Regions from separate parts of the Homo sapiens genome. Here regions 1, 2 and 4 are each linked to region 3. Evidence: promoter capture Hi-C in 16 types of primary human blood cells and fetal thymus (Javierre and others, 2016). All regions are on one chromosome and are shown on one strand. The core of a region is centred on a gene start or on the middle of the fragment in contact, and the rest is flanking DNA. Distances in the headings are between cores, read along the strand shown. Region 1 has its middle 5.5 kb from the start of NCOA6. Region 2 holds the start of GGT7 (gamma-glutamyltransferase 7). Region 3 holds the start of MMP24 (matrix metallopeptidase 24). Region 4 overlaps GGT7 (gamma-glutamyltransferase 7).

What was found. Contacts are between HindIII fragments. The CHiCAGO score rates a contact against its expected background, and 5 or more counts as called.
Region 1: a fragment that was not itself captured here is called in contact with the fragment with the promoter of MMP24 in region 3 in 6 of 17 cell types (endothelial precursors, M0 macrophages, M1 macrophages and 3 more); the score reaches 10.2 in endothelial precursors.
Region 2: the fragment with the promoter of GGT7 here is called in contact with the fragment with the promoter of MMP24 in region 3 in 3 of 17 cell types (endothelial precursors, erythroblasts and M2 macrophages); the score reaches 8.1 in endothelial precursors.
Region 4: a contact is called between a fragment that was not itself captured here and the fragment with the promoter of MMP24 in region 3, in 6 of 17 cell types (M1 macrophages, endothelial precursors, M2 macrophages and 3 more). The highest score is 9.2, in M1 macrophages.

The regions. Positions count from the first base shown.
Region 1 is chr20:34,829,313-34,832,894 of GRCh38, forward strand. No RefSeq gene overlaps it. Among named protein-coding and RNA genes, the nearest start is that of NCOA6, 5.5 kb to the left of the region's middle. The HindIII fragment of the contact is 3,581 bases long and covers 229-3,582 here.
Region 2 is chr20:34,871,255-34,874,671 of GRCh38, forward strand. It overlaps GGT7 (gamma-glutamyltransferase 7), which reads right to left and starts at 1,602. Exons shown (of 15, transcript NM_178026.3): 1 at 1,393-1,602. The coding sequence starts at 1,561. RefSeq lists a silencer at 1,484-1,773. The HindIII fragment of the contact is 15,552 bases long and covers 1-3,417 here.
Region 3 is chr20:35,225,151-35,228,484 of GRCh38, forward strand. MMP24 (matrix metallopeptidase 24) reads left to right here and starts at 1,540. Exons shown (of 9, transcript NM_006690.4): 1 at 1,540-1,834. The coding sequence starts at 1,589. All of the region lies in intron 3 of MMP24-AS1-EDEM2 (MMP24-AS1-EDEM2 readthrough), which reads right to left. The HindIII fragment of the contact is 9,584 bases long and covers 1-3,334 here.
Region 4 is chr20:34,848,188-34,851,791 of GRCh38, forward strand. It overlaps GGT7 (gamma-glutamyltransferase 7), which reads right to left. Exons shown (of 15, transcript NM_178026.3): 13 at 3,044-3,181; 14 at 1,774-1,873. Among named protein-coding and RNA genes, the nearest start is that of GGT7, 23 kb to the right of the region's middle. The HindIII fragment of the contact is 6,567 bases long and covers 1-3,604 here.

The sequences.
Region 1 (3,582 bases), core at 769-3,268, 400 kb before region 3:
ACATTGTTTTCTCAGCATATAGCACAGCACCTGGCACAGAGTAGGTGCTCAGTAAGTATTTGTTGCGTTTGTGAATCCTAAGCACAATACTAGGTATTGGGCCCAAGAGGGCAGACAGGAGCAAAGAGAACCACAGGCAACCGCAACAGGGGGGCACCTTAGACCTTTGAGCCTATGAAATTAACACCAAATAAATTTAAAATATCCTGGAAAAAAAAACTTTTCTGAAGCTTTTTATTTTAACTTTTAAAAACTGAAATATAATTTATATACAATAAAATGAAAAACTATTAAGTGTATATCTAATAATTTTTTTGCCTACATTCCTGTGTTACCACCACCTAGATCAAGTTATAGATCTATCAACCCAGAAAGTTCCCTTTTGTTCTCTTTTGTATGTTCTCTTCTAATAAATACCTGCTCCCCCAGATGTAACCATTATTCTGACTTCTAGCACCATAGATTAACTTTTTTTTTTTTTTTGAGATGGAGTCGCGCTCTGTCGCCCAGGCTGGAGTGCAGTGGCACAATCTCGGCTCACTGCAAGCTCTGCCTCCCGGGTTCACGCCATTCTCCTGCCTCAACCTCCTGAGTAGCTGGGACTACAGGCACCCACCACCACGCCAGGCTAATTTTTTGTATTTTTAGTAGAGACGGGGTTTCACCGTGGTCTCGATCTCCTGACCTTGTGATCTGCCCGCCTTGGCTTCCCAAAGTGCTGGGATTACAGGCATGAGCCACCACGCCCAGCCGTAGATTAACTTTGACAGTTTTTGATCTCCATAGAAACAGAACCATACAGTTTGTACTCTTGTGTTAGCCTGGAAATCTGACATAGCCAAAGGGTGATTTTTTGGATAAAGATACAATTAATGAATGACTTGATTAATTAACCTGAAAGACTGAATGAAAAGCTCTGGCTACTTCATCCTACAGACACAGAGGTCCTGACAACAGCCAGCCCAGAGGCTGAGAAGACCTCACTGACATATTTCCAAACCCACAAAGACTTCTAGAGATAAGAAAGCTCTCAAAGATTCCAGAAACTCAGCAATAAGACTGGGTGCTATGGCTCATGCCTGTAATTCCAGCACTTTGGGAGGCCAAGGCAGGAGGATTGCTTGAGTCCAGGAGTTTGAGACCAGCCTGGGCAACACAGTAAGACTTCATCTCTACAAAAAATTTAAAAATTAGCTGGTCATGGTCGTGTGTGCCCGTAATCCCAACTACTCATGAGACTGAGGTGGAAGGATCACTTCAGCCTGGGAATTGGAGGCTACAGTAAGCCAAGATCACATCACTGCTCTCCAGACTGGGTGACAGAGTGAGACCCTGTCTCAAAAAAAAAAGGCAAAGGACTTGAATAGACATTTCTTCAAAGAAGATATACAAATGGCTAATAAGCACATGAAAAGATGTTCAATCTCTGTAGTCATTAAGGAAATGCAAATCAAAACCACAATGAGATACCAATTCATACCCTATTTATGTATGTATGTATTTATTTATTGAGACAGAATCTCACTCTGTCGCCCAGACTGGAGTGCAGTGGTGCGATCTCAGCTCACTGCAACCTCTGCCTCCCAGGTTCAAGCAATTCTTGTACCTCAGCCTCTGAAGTAGCCGGAATTACAGGCGCGCACCACCATGGCCAGCTAATTTTTTGTATTTTTAGTAGAGGTGGGGTTTTGCCATGTTGTCCAGGCTGGTCTCAAACTCCTGAGCTCAGTCATTCCCCCTGCCTTGGCCTCCCAATGTGTTAGGATTACAGGCGTGAGCCACGGCGCCCAGCTGCTGTTATTTTTTTAAAAGGCAGAAAATAACAAGTTTTGGCAAAGATGCGGAGAAATTAGCACTTTTATGCATTGCTGGTGGGAATGTATTTTGTTTTTGTTTTTTGTTTTTCTTTGAGACGATCTCGCTCTGTCACCCAGGCTGGAGTGCAGTGGTGCAATCTCGGCTCACTGCAACCTCCGCCTCCCGGGTTCAAGCAATTCTCATGCCCCAGCCTCCAGAGTAGCTGGGATTACAGGCATGCGCCACCATGCCCGGCCAATCTTTGCATTTTCTGTAGAGACAGGGTTTCACCCTGTTGCCCAGGCTAGTCTCAAACTCCTGGGCTCAAGTGTTCCACCTGCCTTGGCCTCCCAAAATGCTGGGATTACAGGCGTGAGCCACTGCGCCCAGCCAGGAATATAAATTGATGCAGCCATGGTGGAAAACAGTTTGGCATTTCCTCAAAAAGTTAAACATAGGCGCCCCTGTAATCCCAGCTACTTGGGAGGCTAGGGCAGGAGGATCACTTGAACCCAGGAGTTTGAGTCCACCCTGGGCAACATAGCAAGACCCAGTCTCAAGGAAAAAAATGTTAAACATAGGATTACCCTATGAGCCAGTAATTCCACTTCTGGGTATTCATCCAAAATAAGTGAAATCACATTAGTACCACTGTACTCCAGCCTGGGTGACAGATGAGACCCTGTCTCAAAGTTTAAAAATAAATAAATGAACAAGCCAGGTGTGGCAGCACATACCTGTGGTCCCAGCTACCCAGGAGGCTAAGGCGAGAGGATCAGTTGAGCCCAGGAGGTTGAGGCTGCAGTGAGCCATGTTTCCATTCCTGCATTCCAGCCTGGGTGATGGAGCAAAACCCTGTTTCGAAATAAAATTTAAAAAATAAAGAAGTGAAAGCAGAGTTTCAAAGAGATATTTGTGCACCCCTGTTCACAGCAGCATTGTTCACAATAGCCAACATGTGGAAGCAACCTACATATCTATAGACAGTTGAATAGATAAGCAAAATGTGGTCTATACATGCAATGAAGCATCGCTCAGCCTTCATGAAGGAAGGAAATTCTGACCCGACGTACACCACAGATGAACCTTGAAGATATTATGCTAAGTGAAATAAGTCGGTCACAAAAAGACAAATATTGTATGATTCCTCCTATATGAGGTTCCTAAAGTAGTCAAATTCATAAAGACAGAAAGTAGAGTGGTTGCCAAGGGCTAGAGGGAGAGGGAATGGGAAGTTTGTGTTTAATGAATACAAAGTTTCAGTTGGGGAAAACAAAGTTCTGGAGGTAGATGGTGGTGATGGTTGCATGTGAATATACTTAATGCCACCGAATTATATGCTTAAAAATGGTTAAAATGGCAAATTTTATGTTATATATGTATTTTACCATACACACGCACAAAAGATTCCAGAGCCACTATCCTAATTTTTTCACCTTGTTGTCCATGTCCTTAAGCCAAGGGTCATGGGTGTTCCTGGGATCTGCAAGAATGCAAAGAGCTGAGAAGACAGGGGCGCATTGGGCACCTGCAGATCCTGTAGGTAAAAATAGCAGGAGCCTAGGCAACACAAATACTTGTTGCCTGCAGGCAGGCAGCAAAAGAACAAAAACAGGCCATAAACTAGCAGATAGTATAGCATAATGATTACAATATTGGGCTCTGAAGCCAAAGTGAATCTGAACACCCAAGTTCAGATTCTAGCTCTGCCATTTATTAGCTATGTGAAGAAACTGCAACCAAAAGGAGATAAATGACTTGTCCAACAGGGTCCAAAGTATTTTC
Region 2 (3,417 bases), core at 352-2,851, 350 kb before region 3:
CAAGAGAGACAGGCATTCTCTGTTGAGCTGGAAGAGGAAACTAAGGCCCAGGACAGGGTAGGTGTGCCTGTTGTCGCTTGGTGAGTCAGGGCTGTATTAGGACCAGAAGTCTCACTCCTGACTACTGAATAAAAGGCCTAGCTTCAGGCTGATATCCATCATGACACATCTTCCCACTCCTCTCCCTGCTACCTCCTGATTCCACTCCCTTTGGAAAATAAGTTTTGATCCGCAGCCCTGACATTTGACGCCCATAAACCTCTAAACTCCATCTTCATTATCTCCTCACCCCCACCCCATACAGAGTGCAGTCCAGTCAGGTTGGCAAGGGCTGCTGGTCAGGGCCAGATGACCAGAAAGTGTAGAGGAGGAGAGAATTTGGGGCTTTCAGGCTGGGAGCAGCTAGGGAAGGGCCAAGCCGGAAAAGCAGCATCTGCCAGGCTGGTAAGAGACAAGGCTCAAGTGCAGGCACTGCGAGGAAGCGAGAGTGAGGTAGAAGGATGCTCTAATGCCAGGAAGTGACGTGCAGGGACAGAGGGATGGGGGATGAAGGATGAAGAATGGAGGGGAGGATGAAGCTGGGCCACATGGCTAGGAGGAAGAGCAGCAGGGAAGGAATGCACAGAGAGCTCTTTGCCCCCAGGTCTCTTCCAATCCCTGTCTCCTCCTTCTCTTACCCCCACTTCTCACAATTCCAGCAGAGGGCTGAGGGGAACACAGTAAAATTCTGGAGACTGCTTCCTAGGGAGCAGAGTACCTTACTAATACCCCGGCCAGATCCATGGCTCAGGGAGGGGTGGGGTAATCCACAGGAGAGTGAAGGCGTTCTAGTCCCCAAGGACTTTTGAGAGGTCATGCAGTCCATGCCTCCGTCTCCCAACACCCAACAGAGGGGAATCATATTCTCTTTACCCCTCCCTAGACATGAAGAGATTCTCCGCTTCTCCCAGACCCTCTGCTTCTCACAATCCCTGGCTGTGGGGAACTTCTCTTAAGGCACAGATTGGATCCCTCTTGCTGCAGTCTCTGACTTGGTTTCTCCTATCCTGTCCTCTGTGGCTAGAGAAAGCCCTCTTCTGGGTGATCACAGCGGTTCCTTAGGATCTCCCCTTCAACATTCCTTCATCGTTAGTTGGTTCTTCCCAGAAGGTAAGCCCAATCCCTTCTACTGCAGTCCCTAGCATCCTCTCCGTTGTCGCATCCTACGCCTCCAAGGCAGAAATGCACCCCCTTCCTCACCAAATAATTAACAGAGACAAGGGAGAAGAAGGGAGAGATCCAAGAAGATGGGGATGAATTAAGGAGATGGAGCTGGAGGTGGATGCTTGACACAGAAGAAGGAAGACCGGGGACTTCCCAAGGCAGGGCAGGGACGGGGTCAGCGGGCCTCACCGGTGTCGGGGTCTCCCAGAAAGGCGTCCTCGTCCTTGCGGCCCCTCAGCGGGGCCGCGGGCGCCGGCTCGTCCTCGGGCAGCCGCGGGAAGCTGGTGATGCTCATGTAGTCCACTGGCGAGTAGGCGCCCAGGGCGCTCTCCTGGCTGGCCTCGTTCTCCGCCGCCATCCTCGCCCGCGCCCCCCAGCAGCGCAGCGCCTGCCGGAAGTGGCTGCGGCGGGGGAGTGGGAGGGCGGAGGGCGGGGCCTGATCTTCGCGACAGCCGGGAGGGGGCGCCTCTCCCAGCCCTCGGCCGTGTCCCGGTCTGACTCGCCCCCGTCTGCTCAGCGCTATCAGCCTGCAGCTGGCACACAGGTGCGTGTAGATGGACAGCCAGGAAGGCAGCGCAGGGTCGAGGGGAGAGCGCGGGGCAAGCGAGACTTCAGTGGCTCTGCACTTTACGCAGCTCAGGGACCAAACCCCTTCCTCCTTCCAGCCTGAATACAGCTAGTGTCCTCCTCAAATCCCAGGCTTCCTTTTCGGGCCCCAGACCCTTTCACTGACCGCAAATCCCTCTCGACCCCAGATCCTGTCTCTGACCCCAAACTCCTCGGACCCCAGACCCCTCCTTGAATTCCGAGATCCTCCTCCTCCGATTTTAGACTCCTCCTCCGACCTTAGACCTCTTTTTCGACTTCAGACTCTGTCTTCACCCCCAAACCCTTTTGAAAACCCCAGCCCATGCTTCATCTCCAGGCCTCTTTGACTGCAGACGCCTCTTTGGACAACAGATCCCTCCTCTGACCTCAGATCCCTTCCCGCACCCCGACACTTCTGACTCCTCTTTCAACCGCATTCTCAAACTTTAGTGTGTGTTAGGATCTTTGAAAGCGGATCCCCAGATTCCACTCCAGAGATCATGATTCAGTAGGCTGGGATGAGGTCCTTGGAACCTGAATATTTACCATCATTTTAAGAGTTTTTGATGTGGTTCTGGAAAGGACACTTTGAGAAAGAAGGAGTGGTGGTAGTGATGGTAGGGCAGGAGTGGGGCAAGGTGGGGAATAGGTCTCCATATTCTGGATGTCTGGGTTCTATTCTGCCACCGCTCAAACACTGTGTAATCTTGGGCAAGACAATTAGTCTCTCTATCAGTTTCCCCATCTGTGAAATGGAAAGAATAATAGTACCCATTTTAGAGGGTTGTCATGAGGATTAAGTAACAGAATGGAAAGCGATTAGTATAGGGCTTGGCACCTACTCAATAAATGGCATCATCATCATCATCATCATTGCCTTAATCTGGTAGATTCATTCCCTCCAAACTCATCCATCCTCTCTCCACTCCAAAATTCCAACCACACTACAGCTTGTACTACTTCTCCATATCCAAGGATGAGGGAGGTTCCTTCTTTTACGAGGTCTCTGTTCCAAACTTTCATTGTGAAGTCCACAGGAAGAGAGGGGGGCTGGTGAAGCCTCTATACACACATCCTTTCTCTTCCCAACCCCAGACCAGTCTCAGGGATGGCCTGAAGTGCTTGAAAAATCTACTATATACACAGCAGCTGCAGTAGCAACTATAGACAGGAGGGGGAAGCAGTGTGTCGGGAACAGCTCTGGGGTTTGGGTGTAGGACTTGGGAGAGAGGATAGGAAGGAGAGGGCTACTCAGAGCTGTGTGGTAAGAGTGCCCAGGGAGGGTAACAGTCTATCACCAAAAAGTGTACCCATTGTCTGTGCCTTTCCCCACCCCAGAGAGTTCTTATCTCCTCAGTGATGTTTGTAGGGTCTATTACACTACCCTGAGGTCTAATCCCTCTGGTGGGACCCTTCCCCACTTGATGAGGTCTGCACCTTCTCAGTGATGTCCACTCCCACAGTGTAGTTGGCAGCTCCTCACTGGAGTTTGAGTCCTCTGGTAGGGTCCACGTCTCCTTAGTAAAGTCTATATCCTCTGTATCTCTTAGGGGAAATCCATGTCTCCTCACTAGGGTAAGTGCCCTTCAAAGCCATTCATGTCCTATTAGCAGGGCCCAGGGCCCT
Region 3 (3,334 bases), core at 290-2,789:
TATTAGGCACTCAATAAATGTTAATTATTATTGTTATCCTTATTTCCTTATACTTAGACTATTACACTAGTCTCCTAACCAATCTCTCTGCCTCCTCTGGTCATTATTCTCTCCACTGGGAGGGGAACTAACATGGAATATCTATTAAGTGTCAAGCACCTCATGCTGAAAGCAATCTTATACAGTAATAGTAGCATCATTTTATAAAAATGGAACAGAGCCAAGATATGAACATAGGTCTGACGCTAAAGCCTGTGCCCTTTTTTCATCTCCAAATTACCACGTAATCATAAAATACTATTTTCACACATCATCCTGCTTAAACACACACATACACACACACACACCACACACACACAACCTTTAATGACCACCCTCCCCCATTTTCCTTCAGAACACAACCCAAATTTATTATCCTAGCATTCACTGTCTTGTACAACTTCCCTCACTTCCCAACACTTTCCTATAGGAACCCTGTGCTCCAGAGAAACTTATCTGCCGCCTCAGGCACATCCTGTACACCCTCAACTTCCTCCCTGAAATGCCCTCTCCTCTCCCCTCCCCTGGTTTAAATCCAGCCTTTCCTTCAGGTCCTAGCTAGAGTCCCACCCTCCTCCATTACACTTTTTCCTAACTTCCCCAGCCCCTCATCAGGTCTCCCTCGACCCCTGGAGCAGCCGCCTGTATCCTTGTTGACACGTGGTGTTTGCCATTCTGTTTTTCTTTGCGTTTATGTTTTCTCATCAAGCTGTAAACCTCTGCACTCCAGGAAATCGGCCTTCTCTTTTTTGTTTTTGTTTTTGGGTGTTTTTTTTTTTCCTTTCAGCATCCCAAGTAGCCCAGAGCCCTACAAATAGAAAGCGCTTGATAAATATGGGTTGTTTTGGATGAAAGATGATCTTCCCAGCTGGATGAGCTCTTTCCCTCTAGGGGTGAGGGACTGAGCTTCACCTCAACTTCACCTAATGTCTCACAGGAATGCCCCCTCTTAAACGCTCCTCAGGTCTTCTCTACCCCTTTCCCCCACCACCCCGGCCCAGGAGAGCCACTCAGAGCTCCCTCTCCGGAGTCACCCTCTCAGACCCAGGGCTATTTCTTTAGCTTGCTCTCGAACCCCGCCTTTACCCCAGAGCCGCTCCTCAGTCTCCTCCCCCAGGCTGCCTCTCAGGCCCCCTCTCCTCCAATGCCACTCCCTAGGACCCTCTCCCCAGGGTTCCGGACCCCCAACCCCGGATATGTTCCCCCAGGGCCATCCAGTTGTTCTACCTCCAGGATTACTGATTTAGCCTCTTCCCCCTCCTGCTCAGGGCTACCCCCAGACCCCGACCTCCAGTTCCACCCCTTCGGACCCTGCCTCTAGAACTGTTCTTTTAGCCTCTGCAACCCCCTCCCCAGCGCCGCTCCGCGGCCCCTGCCCCAGGGCTGGTCGGGGAGCCACTGCCCTCGCAGGTCCCGCCCGGGTGCTGCCCCCGCGCCCCCGGCCGCCCCCCACCGGGGCGGGGCGCGCGGAGGCGGGGGCGCGCTGGCGGCCGAGGCGGCGGCGGCGGCGGCGAAGGCAGGCGGGCCGGGCGCGGGCCCCGCCGCCGGGATGCCGAGGAGCCGGGGCGGCCGCGCCGCGCCGGGGCCGCCGCCGCCGCCGCCGCCGCCGGGCCAGGCCCCGCGCTGGAGCCGCTGGCGGGTCCCTGGGCGGCTGCTGCTGCTGCTGCTGCCCGCGCTCTGCTGCCTCCCGGGCGCCGCGCGGGCGGCGGCGGCGGCGGCGGGGGCAGGGAACCGGGCAGCGGTGGCGGTGGCGGTGGCGCGGGCGGACGAGGCGGAGGCGCCCTTCGCCGGGCAGGTGGGGCTGGCGCGCGGGGCCGGGGCGCGGGCTCGGGGCATCCGGGCAGGGCGGGGGGCGGCACCGGGGACGGGCCTGGGCCGGGCCGCACCTACTGCCGAGGTCGCGGAGGCGGCGCGCCGGGGGTCCGCGCCTTGGGTCCGGGCTGGCGCGGCCCAGGGCGGGGGCTGGGGAGGGCCTCGCCGAGGGCCGCCGAGGCCGGGAGCTGCTTCAGCACCGCGGACAGGGGCAGCGGGCGGGGGCCGAGCACGAGGGTCGGGTTTGTTGTGTTGGCAGTGGGGTGTGTGGCCTGCATGACTATGTGCGAGGGAAACCGTACAACGCCTCGGAGTAAATAGTAAGCGCAGCCAGTCTGTTGTGGGTTGGGAGAAGAAACCGAGGATGTTCAAGCTGGAGAAGGGGGAGGGGGAGGGCGGAGGAAGGACTCGATCACTGTCTTCGTAGCTGAAGGGCTGTCAGGTGGAGGTAGGATAGACTTGTTCTAGCTTGGCCCCACAGGGCAGAACTAGGGCCAGCGGGAGTGGGGGTTGCAAGAAGACAAATTTGGGCTCGATATAGGAAGAAGTTTGTAACAATTGGAGCTGCTCAACCAGCTTAGGAGGCGGCGAGCTGCTCATCACTGGCATGTGCAAGTAAAAGCTCTCGGAGGGGATTGGATGGAGGCATGCATAATGCTTGCATGGATGCATACATCATCATCACAATAATGCCAGCTAGCATTTACTGAACACTCACTATGTGCCAGGCCTGGTGCTATGTTTTATACGAATTATCCAATTCAATCCTCATAACTACTCTATGAAATAGCTGCAATTATTATCCCCATTTTACAGATGGGGATACAGACTCAAAGAGCTTAAGTAACTTGCCCAAGGTCACACAGCTAGTGAGTGATGGAATTGGAATTCTAACCTAGGCAGGCTGACTCTAGTCTCCCCTTATTTACCCATGACCTTATCCTATATCTCATGGGGGGTGCAGTTGGACTAATTTCTCTAGTATCTTCCAACCTAGAGGACTGCAATATTCTAATAAATGATGTTGGGACAATGGTGTTTTGCTGAGGAAAATCAGAGTGATAGCCTCGCCACCCTAAGAGATGGAGTATATTTGTTGAAGCAGGCAGTCTGTTTGTTTAGAAGAATCTGCCTCAAGAGATATTCTTAATTGGGCATGGAGCTCAGGGGGTCATACGTGCACTGAAATTGCGTACAAATTTGTAAGTGCAAATGTGTGTATTTCTAGGCGAGGACCCCTAGATTTCTTCAGCCTCTCAAAGGGTTACAGGTTCCACAAAACAACAAAAAAGATATGGTGTGTAAAAGAACCTTTAGTGCCAGTTGGCAGTTGTCCTCCAAAGATTTTATAATTGCTGGTTGACTTGTTGTGGAAACTTTGCTTAGCCTCTTTGTGTTTTCACATGTGTTTTATCACATGTTAAAGTAATGCATTTCCTAAGTTTATACCCTAGAAGAAAGATTGCTTTAGACTGCCTGAGTG
Region 4 (3,604 bases), core at 971-3,470, 380 kb before region 3:
AAGTCACAAAGGTGCTGGGTAAATTGAGAACTCTAGGAAACAACAGCTAGCCTCCTGGCTGCTCTCTGAGCCATTCATTCTGGTTTTTGCCTAGGCTGTTCCTCCTGTCCAGAATGTCCTTTACCTCCACATACCAAATTCCTACTCATACTTCAAAGCCAAGCTACTTGTCACCTCCTCCATAAAGCCTCCCCAGGGCCTCAGGTAGATGAACTTTCCCTTCACCAAGCCCCCACTCCTTGTACCTCCATCTTACACTAAGGCCCTGAAGGCAGGACTGGGCTGAGCCCAAATAACTTAGCACAGAGCCTCACATTCAACAGAGACCAGCAGATATTTGTTGAACAAAATTCAATTTCAAGGATGTGGCCTTGTCATCTATCAGCTGGGATCCAAGTGTCGCTGGCCAACCACAGGATGTGATTGTTGAAGATCGCGGTCTCTGCTTCTAATGTGATTCAGTCCAGGAGATATCAAGAGCTGTGCAGTAAAGAATAGAGTCTTTGGTATCAGCCAGGTGTGTGTCCTAATTGAAGTTCTGCCACTTAGTGGTTGATCTTTGACTAGTTTATAACTTCTGTGAGCCTCAGTTTCTTCCTCTATAGAATGGGGATAATAATATTGAACAGGCAAGGACTGTGTCTCAATCAATTCTGTATTCTTTTGGACTCGTGTCATATTAATACATTGTCTGTTATAATAAAAACTCCTCAAAGGTGCAGATACTTTCCTGTTTATAAAATTCAGCTGTGCCAAAATTAAGCCCTTTTCTTAGAGGAAAGTCCGTCTCCTCACCCTAAGGTCCACGATCCGGCGCCTGCCTGCCTCTCTGATCTAATTTCATCCTTGCTTACCTTGGTCTCCTTTTTAGTCCTCAAACTCACCAAACCCACTCCTGCCCTGAGTTCTTTGTACTTGCTCCCCTGACCTACAAAGCTCTGCACCAATTCTTTGTATAGTGGGCTCTCTCTTACTTTTTTTTTTTTTTTTTAGGAGATAGGATCTCACTCTGTTACCCAGGCTGTAGGGCAGTGGCGTGATCTTGGCTCACTGTAACCTCTGCCTCCCTGGTTCAAGCAATTCTCCTGCCTCAGCCTCCCGAGTAGCTAGAACCACAGGCACGTGCCATGCCTGGCTAATTTAAAAAAATTTTTTTATAGAGACGGGGGGGTGGAGGGGGGTCTCACTATGTTACTGAGGCTGCTCTTGAACTCTTGGCCTCAAGCGATCCTCTCACCTCAGCCTGGGATTATAGGTCTGAGCCATTGCACCCAGTTTCTTTCTCACTCTTTAGATCTCAGCTTAAATGCCACCAAAGAGAAGTCTTCCTTGATCATTGAGTCCGTCCTATTATATCACCCTGCTTTGACAGTTGGCAGAGCATTTATTTGTCTCATATTTCTTTGATGACTTATTTTCTTGTTTGCCTGTAAATGCAGAATCCCCAGCACCTAGGATGATGCCTGGAACACGTACGTGTTCAATACAAACTGTTGAGTAAATGAAAGTTTGAAGAATGAACAACTGTGTCTTATTTTACAAATGAGAAAACTGAGGCTCAGAGTTGAGACATGGATTTCCCAAGGCCACACAACCAGGAAATGGCAAGACTGGTTCCAATCCCCAGATCGTTCACTGCTCCAATAGAAATTTGCCAAATAAAACCAAACTTCACTGGCAGTTGGTGCTGGTTGAGGCATGGGCACCCTTGGGAGGAGTCCTTTCTCTACCTGTCCCTGTGCCCGCCCCACGAGGTCTCTGCTCTGCACTCACTGTCCACCTGCAGGAGGTTGGACTGCAGGTCCGGGTGTAGGCGGCCGCGGGCCAGGCTGTCACTCAGGTTCCGGTTCAAGGTCAGGACATTCAGCAGAACCTGTGGTAGCCAAGGTACAGAAAAATCAGGGCTGTCCCAGGGGTGATGGTCCAGGATTCCTCAGCTCTCACCCTTGGTCCAGGCTCCTTAGTCTTGAGAATTCTTACACCGGGTGTCATCTGAGCCTCCTAACAGCCCTGGAAGACAGGCAGGCCTGTGATGACTGTTTCCATTTCACAGAGAGGGAAAGTGAAGTCCAGCAAGGAAAATGACTTACTCCAGAGTTTAGAGGAAGCCAGGGAAGATACACCACTAGAACCAAGTCTCTTTAATCTAGCCCGGGGCTCCCTTCTTTTCTCTCTGGATAGGGCAAGGTTAATAGCTAGGAGTGGTCTAGGGCACAATGTGGGTGCTTTTAACTTAGTGGTTAGGAGTGTGCGTAGGCTCTGGAACCAAACTGCCTCCCTGCTCTTTCTAGCTGAAGGTACTTGACCTAAAGTCTTAACCTCTCTGGGCTTCGGTTTCCTTATCTATAAAATAGAAATAAGGATTCTCTCCAGAACTGGGAAGGTTAAAATGGTTAACACACATAACACAGTGCCCAGCACTTAGTACGAACTCTTTAAATGTTAGCTATTGTTATTATTTCCATTTTAAAGATGAAGAGACTGAGGTTCAGAGCTGTTAAGTGAATGCTCCAGCATCACACAGTTACAAATTGGTAGCACTTGGGCCGGAACCCAGGAGTGTCTGATTCCAGAACTTAAGATCGTTAACTCACCACCTGCCAAAATAGGTGCCTGGCATATATATCAGGTTCTCAAGACATTCATGGAGCCATTCTGAGGTGTTCTGGAGAAAAGCAGGCCCTTCCTTTCAAATCCCACCCTAAAGAGGGCTGGTTGTCTATTCAGATGCTGGGTAGAGGTATAATGGGACTTGAGGTTAACAGAACCCAGGCCACCCAGATGCTAACCCCACTTTTCAATCTACTGACCCTGCCATTTCCCCTGCAACCGGGAAAGACAGGGAGCATCAGGGCTCCATTTTCACTAAGAAACTCAGCGCAGCCCATGTCCACATTGCCCAGGATGCGCCTGGCACAAAACAGCCTCAGCCCATGTTTGCCGCATGAGGAATGGAAACAAGCCACAGATATGACAGGCATCTGCAGTCTAGGCCACAGCTTGGCTCCCGGCTGAAAAAGGCCAACCATGGCGTAAACCTCACCTGTGTCAGGCCGCTGAGGCCCCGCGCAGCTCCATTGGCCCCCAGAGCGAGGTAGGTTCCACAGAGCCCCTCCGCGGGTCGGACCACTGTGGGCAGCAGGAAAGAGAGTGGCCGCTTCCCTGGCTGCACTGAATTCTCCTGTTGTTAGAGGACAGAGACCACAAGGGGCAGGTGGGGTGGGACAAGACCGGGAAAGGGCCCCTCCACAACCCTTCCAACTGCTCTCCCTCTTCTACATCTTCCACAGGCCCAGTTTTCCTGGGAGACTGGTCCCTTCCCAGACAACAGTTTGCTATCTGTGAAATGGGTAGGGTGCCTGGATGGGTGGGGTGGATGGGGGAGTGATAAGTACATCCACTGAGCTATGAGGCTGCTACGGGTCACAGGAGAAAGGACCAAGCCAAGAAAGATGGCAATGGGGAAGAACAGGATAACCCCACCCTGATCATCTCTATGTGTCTTTGCCCTGCTGGGGCCCCAGATGGCGGGGTGTAAGAGTGCTGATTTTTAACTAGATAAAAATTATTAAATCCTTCCTCCTTGGGTCCCTCTTTGGTGCCC